3 separate regions of the Homo sapiens genome follow, and regions 1 and 3 are each linked to region 2. Evidence: promoter capture Hi-C in 16 types of primary human blood cells and fetal thymus (Javierre and others, 2016). All regions are on one chromosome and are shown on one strand. The core of a region is centred on a gene start or on the middle of the fragment in contact, and the rest is flanking DNA. Distances in the headings are between cores, read along the strand shown.

What was found. Contacts are between HindIII fragments. The CHiCAGO score rates a contact against its expected background, and 5 or more counts as called.
Region 1: a contact is called between the fragment with the promoter of LINC01386 here and the fragment with the promoter of FCHO2 in region 2, in 2 of 17 cell types (naive CD4 T cells and neutrophils). The highest score is 5.3, in naive CD4 T cells.
Region 3: a contact is called between a fragment that was not itself captured here and the fragment with the promoter of FCHO2 in region 2, in 1 of 17 cell types (neutrophils). The highest score is 5.2, in neutrophils.

The regions. Positions count from the first base shown.
Region 1 is chr5:73,470,981-73,474,336 of GRCh38, forward strand. It overlaps LINC01386 (long intergenic non-protein coding RNA 1386), which reads right to left and starts at 1,986. Exons shown (of 5, transcript NR_126410.1): 1 at 1,893-1,986; 2 at 905-967. The HindIII fragment of the contact is 6,957 bases long and covers 1,847-3,356 here.
Region 2 is chr5:72,954,308-72,957,327 of GRCh38, forward strand. FCHO2 (FCH and mu domain containing endocytic adaptor 2) reads left to right here and starts at 1,734. Exons shown (of 26, transcript NM_138782.3): 1 at 1,734-1,822. The coding sequence starts at 1,790. It overlaps FCHO2-DT (FCHO2 divergent transcript), which reads right to left and starts at 1,577. Exons shown (of 2, transcript NR_186392.1): 1 at 707-1,577. RefSeq lists a silencer at 1,627-2,326. The HindIII fragment of the contact is 4,273 bases long and covers 1-1,825 here.
Region 3 is chr5:73,533,937-73,537,413 of GRCh38, forward strand. No RefSeq gene overlaps it. Among named protein-coding and RNA genes, the nearest start is that of ANKRA2, 30 kb to the right of the region's middle. The HindIII fragment of the contact is 7,488 bases long and covers 1-3,477 here.

The DNA.
Region 1 (3,356 bases), core at 736-3,235, 520 kb after region 2:
ACTGTCAGGATTTCCTGCTAATGAATCTCCAAGCTGCCTCTCAGTCACCCAGCCCACCCACTTCCTTTACCATTGCCACTCTTAGTAGCTATTTTTCTTTTATTTTCTTTCCTTTTCTTTTGTTTTCCTTTCTCTTCTTTTTTCTTTTCTCTTCTTTTTGAAAGAGGATCTCACTCTGTCACCCAGGCTGGAGTGTAGTGACATGATCATGGCTCACTGCAGCCTCAACCTCCTTGGGCTCAGGTGATCCTCCCGCCTCAGCCTCCTGAGTTGCTGGGATTACATGTACATGCTACCATGCTCGGCTAATTTTTGTATTTTTTGGTAGAGGTGGGGTGTCGCCATATTGCCCAGGCTGGCCTCCAACTCCTAGGCTCAAGGATCTGCCCATCTCAGCCTATCAAAGTGTTAGTATTACAGGCTTGAGCCACAGCAGCTGGCCCTTAGTAACTTCTGAACAGAATTTCTCTCCTCTTTGGGCCAGTGAAGAAGAGAATTCAGACTCAGCATTCCGCCTCCCCAGACATACCTTTTAAAAACACACACACATCCTTAAGGTTTTTTTTTTAGCTTCTAAGGGTCTGTATTGCCAGTAACAACAGAGAAGGGGGCAGGGACTGAAAAGGCAAAAAGGCTCCACCCAGCACTCCCCTCTTTTGCTATTTCATTTAGATATTACAGAGAAGGAAGGAAGACATTTTCCCCACCCCTGAGTTTTCTTTGGGACTATCTGGGACAGAAGATCTCTCTGCAGCTCTTGTAGACCTGAGCATTTCATTTCTAGAGCTGAGATGTCAGGAGAGGAGTCTGGGATAAATGTGAGGAAATGGGATGAATGTTGCCAAGACTAATATTAGGGGTGGGTGGGGACTGAGAACAGCTGTAAGGCAATGTTCTTCCCTACCTTAGCCTCCAGAGCTCATGCTGGACCAGCTGGAGGATGTGAAAATCCAGAGGAGGTGAGGATCTGGGCCAAAGAAAGGGCAAGAAAGAAGGGAGATCTCAAGTCAAGCAATTGGAAGGAAAGGGAGGTTCCCATAGTGGACTCTGGGGCAGGAGAGATGGAAGGGTTGGGCATTTGGGCTCTCACACGTGTGTGGGGGTGGGGAGTATGGGGGTGCAGTTAAGGGACCTAGGTAACTGAGCAAAATTGGGCCTGTAAGGCCAATTGCAAAGCTCGCTTCTGCATGTAATGTGTGTACCATCTGTCTCTCCATGCCACTAGGAGCACTAATAAATGTTACATGTAGAAACTTTTGCACTAGCTTGTACATTAAAATTCCATATGCCAATTGACTGGACTACATGAGCGCATCTGTCAAAAACAGGTCTCTTAGGCCCAATTTAGGACATTCCAAAGCAGCTTTATAACTGCTTCAGCCTCCAAATGGTATGAATTAACTCTCATAAGCCAAGTCAATTCTCACTGAGTAAAGGATTCGGCCAAATGTCCAAAAAATTCAAGTCAAAAACACTCTCTTCCCTTTATTATAGAGAATATCAGTAGTAAGATCTTTTTTCCCCCAAAATTGTGCTGCTCATTGACTCCGTGTTTGATGTCATACTGTTAACATAAGTTAATATGGTCAAAATGATAAAATGCTTTATTGTATTATGGGCATGAAAAAGACCATATTTTGCATTTTTACAAAATTCTGTTTTTCCAGTTATATTTACAATTTACAGTGTATGCTGATATATATTAAGTGGTTAAATCTCAGGTGCCAAGTGTATTTTATTTTGAAAAAGTAAATATGTATAACTCCCAAGACAACCTGTTTAGACCCATTCTCTCCCGGCAATGGAAGATGCATAAAGAAGAATATAATCCTCCCTTTTAAGGTAAAGCTTAGATTTACACTTCACATGCCCAAACTCAGCACATATGTTACCTCTAGGAACTGGAAATTTTGCTTCTTTTCCTCATACTGATTTTTTTGTTTCTGTTCTTATTAACTTTTATGAAAATATCTTTAGAAAAGCAAGTATAAATACATGAATGAATAAATATATTGGATGATAGAATCAGAATCTTTAAATATCTCAACATGACAGAATAATGGGGAGATTCTAATAATGAAATGTAACAAGTATGAATGCCAGTCACACCTATGTTCCAGGAACAATTCATCATAACAGCAGGATATGTAAGGAAAGGCTTAGGGATTTCAGTTCACTATGCATAGACCTTTTTTTTTTTCTTTTTGAGACAGGGTCTTGCTCTATTACCCAGGCTGGAGTGCAGTGGTGCAATCATGGCTCACTCCCAGCCTTGATCTCTCAAGCTCAAGCACTCTTCCCACCTCAGCCTCCCTAGTAGCTGGGACTACAGCCATGCACCACCAAATCTGGATAATTTTTAAATTTTTTGTAGAGAAGGGGTCTCACTGTGTTGCCCAGGTTGATCATGAACTCCTGGCTTCAAGTGATCCTCTGGCCTCAGCCTCCCAAAGTGCTAGGATTACAGGTGAGAGCCACCACACCTGGCCCACTACTAACAGACTTTAGAGAGCCATTCAGGCTACTCCTCACCCCATGCAATCTTAGACTGTGTTACTAGATAAATGCTGTCTAAAAAAGGGGAAGAGATAACCTTTTTCTCCACTTTGTGTCAGAATACTATATTCAAATCTGGACACCTCATTTCAACAACAGATTGCAGGGATCCAAACAAAGAAACCAGCTTGGTGATCAAAAGAGTGCCTGCCCCTCAAGGACTCCCAACTCAGTGGGGTTGGTATTGACATAGCAGATACACAAAATGTATTCTAGATTGGTACCAAAACTATGGTGAGTAGATGGCTGTGACTGGGGGACTTCTCAATTGATTGCTCAGTCCATTAGAGGTGGCCTTTTTGTGCCTATTGGCTGTTATCGGCTGCCTTGAGTATATTGTCTATATTTGATCCTCAGTATTTTTGTGTGTGACTTGAGCTTTGAGAATTAAATTAAAATGATATATATTTTACTATTTAATCCTACAAAAGTTATTCAACTATCAATAAATATGTCAAGTGCTGAAAAGAAAAAATATCAACAATATCGGAATAAATAATGACTGTCTAGTTATTTTCTCAGCTGGGCCTAGTGGCTCATGCCTGTAATCTCAACACTTTGGGAGGCCAAAGCACAAGGATTGCTTGAGGCCAGGAATTCAAGACCAGCATACGCAACATAGCGAGACCCCCAACTCTACAAAAAATAGAAAAATTGGCCAGGTGTGGTGGTTCAAGCCTGTATTCCTAGCTGCTTGGGAGGCTGAGGCAAGAAGATCACTTGAGCCCAGGAGTTTGAGGCTGTAGTGAGCTATGATTATACCACTACACTCGAGCTACTCTGCCTCTTAAAAAAAAAAA
Region 2 (3,020 bases), core at 484-2,983:
GTACAAATTTTCACTGCTTTTGGAGTTCACCGTTTGTTTTGAGGACAGAAGACAAAAGATAGGAAGAAGAGTTTTCCTGGGGCCTGAATAGTGTTCTTCACTGGGAGAGGGAATTTATGGTTATGAGCCAGTGTTCAGTATCAGATCACAAGCGGCAGGGGCACCTATTTTTTTTTAAATTAATGTGTGTGTGTGATATGTAAGTTCCTTTAAAGCATGGAGTCCAGGATAGAAGTCTCTCTTGCCCAGGTCTAAGGGTGCGGGGGGAAGGGGGGGGGCGCGGCGGTGGGAGGGAGTACTTTAGTGATACTAGGAATTTAATGCCAAATGTATTTGCTGTGTGACCTAGATGGCTGAATTTTTTAAAAAGTTCTTCAGCATCGAGAAAAATCCAGTTAGACCGATAGCTTAGAGAGCTGTAGCTTATTTCTAAATTTGACTTTCCCTAAAACTAAGTGTAAATGTCAGTGATATGAGGACTTTTTAAAGAAACAAAATAAAGAAACAAGATACACAAAAATAGAGCAACTATGGCCAATCTTGTTTCATCCCTTTTCATCTATGACCTTACTCATACCCCTATCCATAATAAATGACTTTCAGCAAATCCTAGATGTTCTGCATCCTATATCTTTCTAACAGATATTCTTAAAAAGTATGACCACAATACCATTATCCAATTATTCCTTGTTCAACAAGCACTTACAATTTCATCCATGTGAAAGGCACCTCATGATTTTTACTTGAGGATGAAGATAATTTCTCATGAATTCTCATTGTTTTAAGTCACCTGAAGAGGTGTGATATGCTACAATAAATCTATTTGTAGGGCTTGGCTTCAAGAACTGAAGATTCTGGACCTAGCTGATCTGGTGACAGTGAACTTGAGACCTCTAATAGCGTTTAACTATTTTTTTTTAACTTTTGGAAAGCAAGGTGTAGGAAGGGGATTTAGTTTTTCCATTAGGTCGTGGCATGTTAAGACTTGTTTCTTTTTCCAAAATGTTCAAGTTGCTGAAGAGAACTATGGACTATGGGTCAGGAAGTCCGTCGGTTTCGGGTCACATTCCGCTCCCGCAGGCCTGCGGGCCGCCCCAGCTGGTTTGTTCCCGGCGTGTTAGAGGTCAGAGGCCGAGGCCGCACTCAGTGCCTGGGTCTCGCGCAGCTCCAGGGCTCTCAGGCGACACTGGGCGTTTCCTTTCCGGCTTCGGAAAGTTTTGTTTTGGTTCAAGGAAAGGCGCCCTGTTGACCAAAGGCTTCTCAGTCTCCTCCGGGTGGCCAGCGGCCAAGTTTCCTCCAGCCCAGCGAGTCCAGACTATAGTCCGTTCGAGATCCTCGAAGGCCGGGGAAGCGAGTCTTGTGAGGAGAGAAAGCGAGTGGGCAGCCAGCCTGCCGACTCCACTGCCGCTGGCTGGCCCTTCTCTTCCCTCTGTCCCTGGGCCAGTGCCCGTCGCACCACAAACAGTGCGAGCAGTCTCCCCGGTGACTCCTCAAGGACCCAGTTCTCCACCATTCCTAAGAGAACACTCAACCCAGCCGCGCCCGGGATGCAGAGAGATCTACCAACACCCGAGAATGGGGACAGGGCGCATGCGCACACCGTGGCCGTGGCGTCTAAGTGCTCGCCCAGCTGCGGCAGCCGCTAGGTGGCGCATGCGCCCTGGAAGGTGCGGGCCGGTCTCTGGGAAGAAGGCGGCGGCGGCGAAAGGCGGGGGTGCTGTGGGGGCCGGGCCGTGTTTACACAGCGGCGGGCGGGCGCGGACGCGGAACCCGGCGCGGCGGCGGCACGATGGTCATGGCGTATTTCGTCGAGAATTTTTGGGTAAGCTTAGGATGTTGGAAGTCGTGTGTTTCGAAGTCCAAGGCTTTTGGCGCCTGAGCTTGGCCTGCGTGCGCTTCGGGCGGCGGCGGCGGCCCCTCCGGCAGGGCGAGCGTCCTCCTGCCGCGTCCCGCCTGGGTGAGGTCCGGCGGGCGACCGGTCGCCAGCCTATAGGGACTCCCGGGCTCGCAGCCCTATGGGGACGGGGGCTGTCACCGCGGCCCGGGGGCCCGCAGCGGGGCCGCCGGCCACCGGGGCTGGGACAAAGCGCCGGATGGGGCGGGAGACGGGACCCAGCCCCACCGGAGGCTCCCGGTGCCGCGCTCCGCGCGGGGCGTGCGCGGCAGCTCGGACGCGAAGGACGGGCCCGCGGCACAGCCGCCTCCCGCTGCGCGCTGGCTGGGAGCGCCGGGCGGTGGGGTTTTGCCTCCTGCCCTCACCGCGGGCCCCCCATCTGAGCGATCCCTTTTACCTCTGACGGTTTCCACACCAAATCCAGTGCGGGGTTGGGCTGGACTAGCACTTCCTCTCAGCCTCGCAGCTCGGCTCGTGGGTTTGCGCCCAGGACTTTGCCTCTGGGCCTGTTCACAAAGCGTTTAAAAGTTGGATTTAATGTAACTGGACTCCTTGGGCTTAAATGCATGGAGACCTCCCCCTACTCTGTGCTCCTTCCCCTTCCTCATTCTTTCCACCCCTTGTCTTAGCTCAGTATTAGATTCTTCTTTGAGAATTTCTCCGGCTCCCGGTGGAGTATTTTTCTGCAGTTATTGTTTTTTTTTTTGTAATGGGAAGTACAGTTCAGCCATGTACAGGAAAGGAACGTGTTTACTCAGGTATCTTTCGTGAATCCCATTTTATGCCCTGACAGTTGCAAGTACTGCAGGTCCATTTTCGTTGAGATTTAGACATATTTAAAGGGGTAATCTTTTAGCTAGTAAGGAATGTATGTTAAATTCTTAATTCTAAGTGCCTCAAGCATGGTCTTGGTTAGTAATCAGATCAGTTCATAGTTATTTATTTGTCTTGAATGTACCTTGTTTTCCACAAAGAACGTATATACTAGACCTTAGGTGTTTTGTTTTTTAAACAGCTTTATTGAGTTCACATTTCCGTACCAATACACTCATTTAAAGTGTAGTACAATTCAGAGGTTTTTTCATATGTTCATAGAGTTGTGTAAACATCACCATATCAGTTTTAC
Region 3 (3,477 bases), core at 142-2,641, 580 kb after region 2:
TTTCATCCACAGTATACAAGCTCCTGTACCTCACTGGGAGCTTGGGTCTTCATTCTGAAGGCTCTTGTATATACACATTAAATAAATTCGTATGCCTTGTCTCCTATTAATCTGCCTCATGTCAGTAATTTTTTCAGTGAACATTTAGGGAGTCAAGGGCCTTGGCCCCCACACTCTTCTCTCTCCCCAAGCCCACAGGCAGTCATGAAGAGGCACAAGCCTTCTATTCTTGGCTTCTGGACAGTGTGGTGACTCAACCCATTTGCTCCATGCTGTCAACTGAAGAATGATGAAGTCCCTACATGTGGAAAGGAGAGCTTTATTTCTTGTAAAGGGTTGCAGCCTGCAGGGTGGCCATTCTGACAGGCTGGGAAGCATAGCCTTTGGCCAGAAGCCAGAAACGGACACTTTGAGGGAGGGGCAAAGGGAATAGGAATTCATGCTGAGCAAGGTGGTCAAATATACATATTCAAGGAGGAGTCATGGATAGTTATGAAAGAAAAGATATGTGCATATGCAATGGCGCTTCATGCCTCTCCATGGGACTCACGTTCAAACAATATCGGCATTAGTATGATCTGAGGGTGTAGTTTTCAGCCCTCTGATGTCAAAAGGTGTGACAGAGGACACAAAAACCCTCACTGTGCATTTCCATAGACTGGCCAGAACCACTGGTCAGTGGTCACTTATCAGGCAAAAAAGGAGGGGCAGTGTCAGGCTGTTGGTGGATATCCATGGTGGGGTCTTTTGAAAGGGCTGGTTTCTGTTCAGCCCTTGTGGAGGAAAGCCCAATGGCAGGCAGTGAGGGAGGGAGGGTGCATAACGAGGTATGTCTGTCCTTCCATCCCATCATTGTTGGGAACTCAGGCTCAAGGTTTCTCTGGGGTCTCCTTGGCCAAGAGGAGGTCTGTTCCATCAGCTGGGGGGCTTAGGATTTCATTTCTATTTTTCAGTGCTGTTCCATGATGAAAATGGAACCCTGGGGAGCCAGCACTTCTCTTGCTTGCACCATTACGATAAATGAATAAAGCCATGACTCTCAGTGCGGCTTGTTGTTCTAATTGACTAAACTGATTGCTCAACACCTCACATAGTCATTAAATAAATTCTGAGTATGTTCTTGGATGTCAGGGACCCAGATTATGGGTTCAGTTTAATATAAGGATTTTCTCAGTGAACAGAAAAAGAGGAATGGGGACTCCTATTATACAAAGATTGTATCCTCTTCTTGGATTGAGATGGTTAAACAACTTGGTAGAATAGTTACAAGCTGAGAGCTTAGAGAAAAGCTCTGTGCCTGGAACTCTCTGACTCTGGAAAAACCACAGTTGGAGGATGAAAATAATCAGAAACTCAGCAAAATGAAGGCAGCTTAAAAGACAAGAGCAAATCATTGTCTTTTAGTCAAAAGACTTCCCATAAACCATCGAGACAGAGAAAGTGAAGGTGATAGACACTCTGAGAAGGCTGAGGGCAGATGTTTTTCCTCAGGAGGAGGGTTGAGGTTTTAGCTATTGAAAGGGAAAAAGACATGTAGCAGATTTAATTATTACAAGGTCAGGGCAGTGATGGGCACAGAGATTTATGGCAAATTGAAATGACTTCCTCATCCTGGAAAGAAATTGAAGCACCTTCTTAACACTGTAAATGGGAGACAGTAATGAGCTCGGAGCCTCTCTTTGAAGATCGTGGCAACCATTCAAGGAGAGCTACACCAATGGATAAGAGAAAGGGGAAATGGCCACTTTTTTCTTAAACTGGGGCTTTGAGATTCATTTTAAGTATTGTAGAAGACAGAGAAGGACTTTAGTAGGCAGAATAATAGGCCCCCAGAGATCAAAGATATCCACATCCTAATTCCCAGGACCTGTGACTTTGTTAGGTTACATGGCAGAGAGGATTTAAGGTTGCTAATCAGTCAACCGTAAAATAGGAAGACTATCCTAGATTATCTGAGTGAGGCCAGTGTAAGCACAACAGAATTTTTTTTTTTTTTTTTTGAGACAGAGTCTCACTCCTGTTGCCCAGGCTGGAGTACAATGGCACGGTCTCGGCTCACCGCAATCTCCACCTCCTGGGTTCAAGCGATTCTCCTGCCTCAGCCTCCCAAGTAGCTGGGATTACAGGCTTGCGCCACCACGCCTGGCTAATTTTGTATTTTTAGTAGAGACAGGGTTTCTCCATGTTGGTCAGGCTGGTCTTGAACTCCTGACCTCAGGTGATCCGCCCACCTCGGCCTCCCAAAGTGCCGGGATTACAAGTGTGAGCCATCGCTCCCGGCCGCACAACCACTCTTAAAAGTCAAAGAAGGAGGCAGAAGAGAGAATCAGAGGGAGCTAAGATGACAGAAGTGGGGCCAGAGTGATGCGGCATTGCTGGCTTTACAGACCGAGAAGAGGCTGAGAGCCCGGGGCTGTGGCAGCCTCTAGACACTGGAAAGGGTGAGGAAGCGGATTCTCCCCTAAGCCTTTCAGAAAGGGAGACACACAGACCTGCCGACACCTTGATCTTAGCAAAGAGGGATTCTCATTGGACTTCTACAGAATTCTAAGAAAACAAATTTGTGTGTTTTAAGCCACTAAATTTGAGATAATTTGCAGAGGCAAGAATAGGAAACTACTGAGAGATTAAAGGGTGATACATGTGTACTGCTGACTCCACTCTCCACCCTGGAAGAGGTTTGTCCCACAAGCTAACAGCTAAAATGTTTGCATTATAATTGTCATTGCCATCCATAAGAGTGAACATGGCTAGGTGCGGTGGCTCGTGCCTGTAATCCTAGCACTTTGAGAGGTCAAGGCAGGAGGATTTAAGTCTAGGAATTTGAGACCAGCCTGGGCAACATAGTGACACCCTGTCTCTAAAAAAAATTTTTTTAAATTAATTAGCTGGATATGATGGTGCGTGCCTGTAACTCCTGACCTCAGGTGATCCACCCGCCTCGGCCTCCCAAAGTGTTGGGATTACAGGCGTGAGCCACCGTGCCCGGCCTACTATTGCTGGATCCTAACAGATGTCAATGATTTTTCACATTTCGTACTACATCACGACTGCCACCTGGCGGACAGTTGTTGTACGACAGCATTGACTGCATCCTGCTTTCAGAGCGGTTAAAATGAGGGGGAAAAAATTACCATAAATTTACCATAGTACACCTTTAAATAATGATCCTGATCCTAAACTATAATTTGACTTCCTGAGTCCTAGTTGGCACACAGCATTGATGGCATATCACTGTTGTGCAAAGCAAGTGACAAGTGCGCAGCTTACAGCGTAGGAGCAGCACATGTGGCGGCCTCCAAGCTGCTTATAGAGAAGGCTCTTACGTCAGAACTTACATTTAGCCCTGTTATTCTTTCCTTCTTTCTTTTGCAAAATGTAGACAATAGGAAATTATTTACAGTTGGCATCTTCTCTCTCAAATAAAAAATTTAATAGCAGGTCTCAGAAGATAGCCTTCCTGTTTTTTGTTTTTTG